Regions from separate parts of the Homo sapiens genome. Here region 2 is linked to region 1. Evidence: promoter capture Hi-C in 16 types of primary human blood cells and fetal thymus (Javierre and others, 2016). All regions are on one chromosome and are shown on one strand. The core of a region is centred on a gene start or on the middle of the fragment in contact, and the rest is flanking DNA. Distances in the headings are between cores, read along the strand shown.

The links. Contacts are between HindIII fragments. The CHiCAGO score rates a contact against its expected background, and 5 or more counts as called.
Region 2: the fragment with the promoter of NPPA here is called in contact with the fragment with the promoter of MTOR-AS1 in region 1 in 5 of 17 cell types (total B cells, total CD4 T cells, naive CD8 T cells and 2 more); the score reaches 9.0 in total B cells.

What each region holds. Positions count from the first base shown.
Region 1 is chr1:11,142,480-11,145,377 of GRCh38, forward strand. It overlaps MTOR-AS1 (MTOR antisense RNA 1), which reads left to right and starts at 1,419. Exons shown (of 4, transcript NR_046600.1): 1 at 1,419-1,508; 2 at 2,188-2,407; 3 at 2,674-2,800. It overlaps MTOR (mechanistic target of rapamycin kinase), which reads right to left. Exons shown (of 58, transcript NM_004958.4): 33 at 2,489-2,566; 34 at 2,169-2,276. The HindIII fragment of the contact is 11,786 bases long and covers 1-1,542 here.
Region 2 is chr1:11,846,500-11,849,301 of GRCh38, forward strand. NPPA (natriuretic peptide A) reads right to left here and starts at 1,284. Exons shown (of 3, transcript NM_006172.4): 1 at 1,063-1,284; 2 at 614-940. The coding sequence starts at 1,185. It also overlaps NPPA-AS1. RefSeq lists an enhancer at 320-2,110. The HindIII fragment of the contact is 12,440 bases long and covers 1-2,802 here.

The DNA.
Region 1 (2,898 bases), core at 169-2,668:
GAGAGGGGGTTTCTCTATGTTGGCCAGGCTAAGTCTCAAACTCCTGACCTCAAGCAATCCACCTGCCTCAGCCTCCCAAAGTGCTGGGATTACAGGTGTGAGCCACCATGCCTGGCCAAGTGAACTCCTTTTTCATCCTTGTTGATAAGAAGTCAGACTCAGAAGGGGAGTTCCTGAGATCTACTGCTTCATGGTAAATTCCATGAACCCATGGAGCTGTCCTCCATGGAGATAAACTTAAAAGTCTAGCGACAATGATCTCAGGCTTTTAGCTATGATAAGATGCAGTCTGAGCCTGACTGGAGAACCCAAGGCTAGAAGAGACCCAGCGCCAGTAAGGCTGACCTCTCTAACTGCCCTATGGGAGGGTCTTAGGAACCAAAAGCATTGGTGCAACTCCAAAGAAAAGTAACAAACATGTATTTTTCCACTACTATAATACTGGTTGGGGATTTTAATTTAAATGATTTGACCACAAAATGGCAGTTTTCTAGCCCCAGCAGTTCATTTGACAGCAAGCCATCCACAAGAGCCAAATTTCCACTATAAATGTAATGCTTTACTTTCAGGCCTTGGACCACATTTTTCCATCCCATGAAGTGTGACAACAATGATTTCGAAAGTTAAAATAACAGAAAAAAGTACACTGAGTGATTGTTTTTTGTGACTTCTCACCAATAGTTAGGTTCTCCCAGATGCTGAAATAATTTGGCCTCCTGTAAGCCAAAAAGCATCTTGCTGCCTCAAGATAGGAAAGTCACGAAGGCTTAAGGTGGTGGCAGTGTCCTGGACCCAGTAAAGTCAGACAGGCATCTCTCTTCCCAGGACTCATTCCATGCCTCCCCTCTCCTCTAAGTCTACATTTGGATCAAGTCCCACTTGTCAGACTGTCAGAAGGTTCATCAGATCTCTGCTGTAGAAACTCTTTATTATAGGCATTTCAAAGAATTGGGGTGTGTACAAATCAAGTGGGAAATGCTTATTTGTGGAATTCTTTCTGGTGCCCAGGAGACAATTTTCCATCAAAACATTCACTGGGCATTTCATAATTACTAATAAAACATGTAAAAGAACTGTATGTGCTCATTTCAGAGCCATAAATGACTGTATTCATAGATGTTCCTTTGCCCATTGCTCTTTCCTGTCCAGGGGAATGTGCCCTGAGCTTCCTAGGCAGGAATGTGTTTGGAGTCAAAAGGTTTTGTCGCAGCCTACTGAGACGCCTGGAAGCACAAACTTCGATTGGTCTGAAGCGAGAATTTGGAATTAGCAATTAGGTGGGGATCTAGTTGAGAGGAAATGGTTTATAATTGCGGGGATGGATTATGATAGGTAGGGAGACAAATGGTTTCTGGAGTGGTAAAGGCTTTCTCTCTTTTTTCTTTTGCTGATGAACTTCCTATCCTACCCACTCAAGGAATGGGATAACTGGCCATCCTTCCCAGAACATTTAGACTCCTGACTCCCAGACCTGGAGTGACAGTTTCTCATGTTAAAATGATCAGAATGTGAGAATGAAAACACTGATGGAGGACTTGGGAAAGCTTCTTCTCTACAAGCGGAAACTGCAGTGGAAAAAAAGTCTCAATAGAGGCGACAGGATGACTCTGACCTAAGTAGCTATAAATAGCAGGAGTTGGCCAATGAGAACCTAAGGCAACCCCATCTGAAAAGCTGGTGCAGGTGGCCTCCAAGTGTAGTTAGAGCAGTGGTTCTTAGCTTTGGCTGGTGGAATCATCTGGGGGAACCTGAAAAGATACTGATCCTGAGTCTCTCCCCAGAAATTTAATTGGCCTGGGGAATAGCCTGGGCATCAGGATTTTAAAAAGCTCTGCAGGTGATTCTACTGTGCTGCTAAGGTTGAGAACCACTGATTTTGAGGTTATGATTCCTAACTGACTGGTCACAGGTGTCACTTACTAAAAAACATTTTTTTTAATTCCTAGAGAAGAGAATAAGAAGAGACTGGAAAATTGGTCATTCTCTCACAGCTTAAGTTTAGGTGAGGAGCCTTTGAGTATTCTGCTTTGTATGCAAGCCAAGCAATACACTGGTGGAGGAGGCAGGAAAAGCAAGTTGAGTAAGAGCCAGGGTGGAGGGGGGCACTCACCCAGGTCCTGGAAGGGGTAGGGGTAGGTGGGTGAACTGGGGCTTTCTACCAAGCTCACCTGCAGTCTCTCCCACCAGATCTGGCGGATGATCTCTCGTCGCTCGGGGACAAGTTTGTACTGGATAACCTCCTCCAGCTCGGACAGCATGTGGCAAGAAACCATGGCCTGATGGAAGCAAATCGCATTCCAAACTAATTACTGCACGAACAATCCAAAAGACAGGATTAATTTAAATCATTCCTTCTGGTGTCAGGGTATCTGCCGATCAGAGAAAACAGGCATGTTTCCAGCAGCCTGTAAGTTCTCAATAGCCCATTCTGAAAAAAGTATGGAAATAAGCCTCAAAAATGACAATGTGCAGAATAGTTGACACTTACCCCATATGCCCGACTGTAACTCTCTCCTGCCATCGCAGTTAATTCAGCATCCAGCAGGTCCCTGGCCTTGTCAATGCACTAGAAGAGAAACAACCCTTGGGACTGAGCTCTGGACTTGGGAGCTTAGGGTTATTTTAGGGCACCCCAACTAGCTACAGAAGTTATCTGTCTCACTTAAATTCCAGGGATGAAAAGAGAAATTCGCTGAAGAAGGGCATTTTCCCAGAACTGAATGGCTTGAGAGGAGGTATTATCCAATTTCTCATCGAAGACAGAAATGTATGGCATCCAAAACTTTAACATCTATCTAAGGTAACACACAAAATCTTAGGTGGCAAGGGCATGGGAATGTGGGCTGTAAAACCGAATCATGGGTTCTTGCATCTCAAGAGGACATAACTGGGGATCTA
Region 2 (2,802 bases), core at 34-2,533, 700 kb after region 1:
TTAGTAGAGACGGGGTTTCACCGTGTTAGCCAGGATGGTCTCCATCTCCTGACCTCGTGATCCACCCGCCTTGGCCTCCCAAAGCGCTGGGATTACAGGCGTGAGCCACCGTGCCTGGCCTTTTTTTTTTTTTTTTGAGACAGTCTCGCTCTATCACCTAGGCTGGACTGCAGTGGCGTGATCTCTGCTCACTGCAACCTCTGCCTCCTGGGTTCAAGTGATTCTCCTGCCTCAGCCTCCCAAGTAGCTGAGAGTACAGGTGCCCGCCACCACACCCAGCTAATTTTTGTATTTTTAGTAGAGCTGGGGTTTCACCATGTTGGCCAGGATAGTCTTGATCTCTTGACCTCATGATCCGCCTGCCTCGGCCTCCCAAAGTGCTGGGATTACAGGCGTGAGCCACTGTGCCCAGCCCCCCCCCCTTTTTTTTTTAAGCATTTTCTCAGCAGACTAGCTAAGGACAATAGATGGCATGTCCTGACACCCATGGGGCACTCTGGGTGTTGGGGCAGAAACTTGAGAGGGAATGAGCTTCTGCATTGGTCCCTTTCCTGCTGAAGGTGTCTCCCAGTAGTGTCCATCCCATCCCATTTCCATCCCCAGTTCCTCTTACCCGGAAGCTGTTACAGCCCAGTCCGCTCTGGGCTCCAATCCTGTCCATCCTGCCCCCGAAGCAGCTGGATCTCCGCAGGCTCCGAGGGGCAGTGAGCAGCGCCCTCAGCTTGCTTTTTAGGAGGGCAGATCGATCAGAGGAGTCCCAGGGGCCCCGCCCGAGGGCACCTCCATCTCTCTGGGCTGGGCTGACTTCCCCGGTCCAGGGAGGCACCTCAGGGAGGGGGCTGAGAGCAGCCCCCGCTTCTTCATTCGGCTCACTGAGCACTTGTGGGGGCACGACCTCATCTTCTAAAGGCATCTTTTCTTCCAAATGGTCCAGCAAATTCTTTAGAAAAGGAAAATACAGGGAAAGGGATAAACCTCACTGACTTGGAGGAAATCAAGAGGAGTGAGCACAGCATCAGAAAGCCCCCTGGCCCCAGACTGCACCCGCTTTCCTGGCCCTACCTTGAAATCCATCAGGTCTGCGTTGGACACGGCATTGTACATGGGATTAGCTCTGGTCTGACCTAGGAGCTGGAATGCCAGTAAAAGGAGGAAGCTCACGGTGGTGGTGGAGAAGGAGCTCATGCTGGCGTCGTCAAGGAGCAATCCACTGCTTGCTGCTCTGTCTCTCCCCTCTGGTTCCTCTCTGGTTCCCCTCTCTTGGCCTACGTCTGTCCCTGTCTCCCAGCTGCCCAGTGCCGCCTCTTTTTATAGCCCCCCAGCTCTCCAAGCACGCAGGAGAGACAGAACCCTCCCCATTCTGTCACTTGCAGTGATAAAGCTGCCAAGTGAGAAGCCAGCAGGAGATGCCCTTTTAAAGTTATCATCCCGCAGGGCTTGTCACAGCCCCTCTCTGCCTTGGGCAGCCCCAACAGCCCCCCAGACCCTCAGCTGCAAGAGCCGCATTCTTACTGATTTGACTCAAGAGGCTCCCACTTCAAAGGTGTGAGAAGAGTAAAAAAGAGTCCTTGGTTATCTCACCGCCGTGCCTCAGGATTCTTTCTCCTCGACGCTGGTACCCGTGCGGGGAAACAGAGGGTGACGCTTGGCTGGTGCCCAGCTCCCCTGGTTTGTTTGTGGCTCAGCTGTCAGGGCCTCCAAATAAGGGTGGAGAGGAGGAAATGGCAGGCAGCCAGCAGCCCGAGACAAATGGATCCAGATGCTCAAGCTGGCCTCACACCTGCCTCATCCGCCACGTGGGCAGACCTCTGGCCTCAGACAGGGCTGCCTTCACCCCTGGCAGTCCCTCTCCATGGTCAGGCGAAAGGAAGTTATTTTTTAGTATATAAAGTCAGCTGAGAACCAAATGTGATGAAGCTCCCAGGAATCCAACCCCCAAATAGAAATAGCAAGAAAAGGCGGGGGAGCACAAGCATCCTCTCTCCAAAGCTCCTCCTCTTCCATGTCCCCCGCGACCCTCCTCCAGCATGCTGCGGGGACAGGCTTAGAGGACGCAGCCAATTTCATTTCTTCCGTTGCTGTTTATAGATGCTCAGACTCTTCGTGTCTGAAGTTTGTTAACATCCCCCTGCCCTTCCTGGGCTTGTGCCCGTGGCAACTTGACCGATGGAGGAAGGGAGGTGGGGGTGAAGGAGGTATAGTCAGTTTCCCTCAATGCCTTCTACATCCTTCCCTGAGGACGTGGCAAGTGGCAAGTGACCGAGCCACCAAGGTCACAATTTCCCTGGCCCCCAAAAGGGAAATAACAGGCAGCAAGTCTGTCTATGTTTAATGAATGGCCTGTTTGCTAAGCACTGAACTCAGTGTTAGCCATTACCATTCAATGCAACGTATACTGGGGGAAAACTCTAAATTTGAAGGGCTGAGAGACCAGTACTGTAGCCCAAAACAAACCAGTTGCATACCTCTTCGCAGCCTTACTTTCCTTGTGTGTAAAATGAGAAAGAATGTTAAAAACCGGCCGGGTGCAGTGGCTCACACGTATAATCCCAGCACTTTGGGAGGCTAAGGTGGGTGGATCACCTGAGGCCAGGAGTTTGAGACCAGCCCTACCAACATGGCAAAACTCTGTCTCTACTAAAAATATAAAAATTAGCTGGGTGTGGTGGCATGTGCCTGTAATCCCCGCTACTAGGGAGGCTGAGGTAAAAGAATTGCTTGACCTTGGGAGGCGGAGGTTGTAGTGAACCAAGATCGCACCACTGCACTCTAGCCTGGGCAACAGAGTGGGACTCGGTCTCA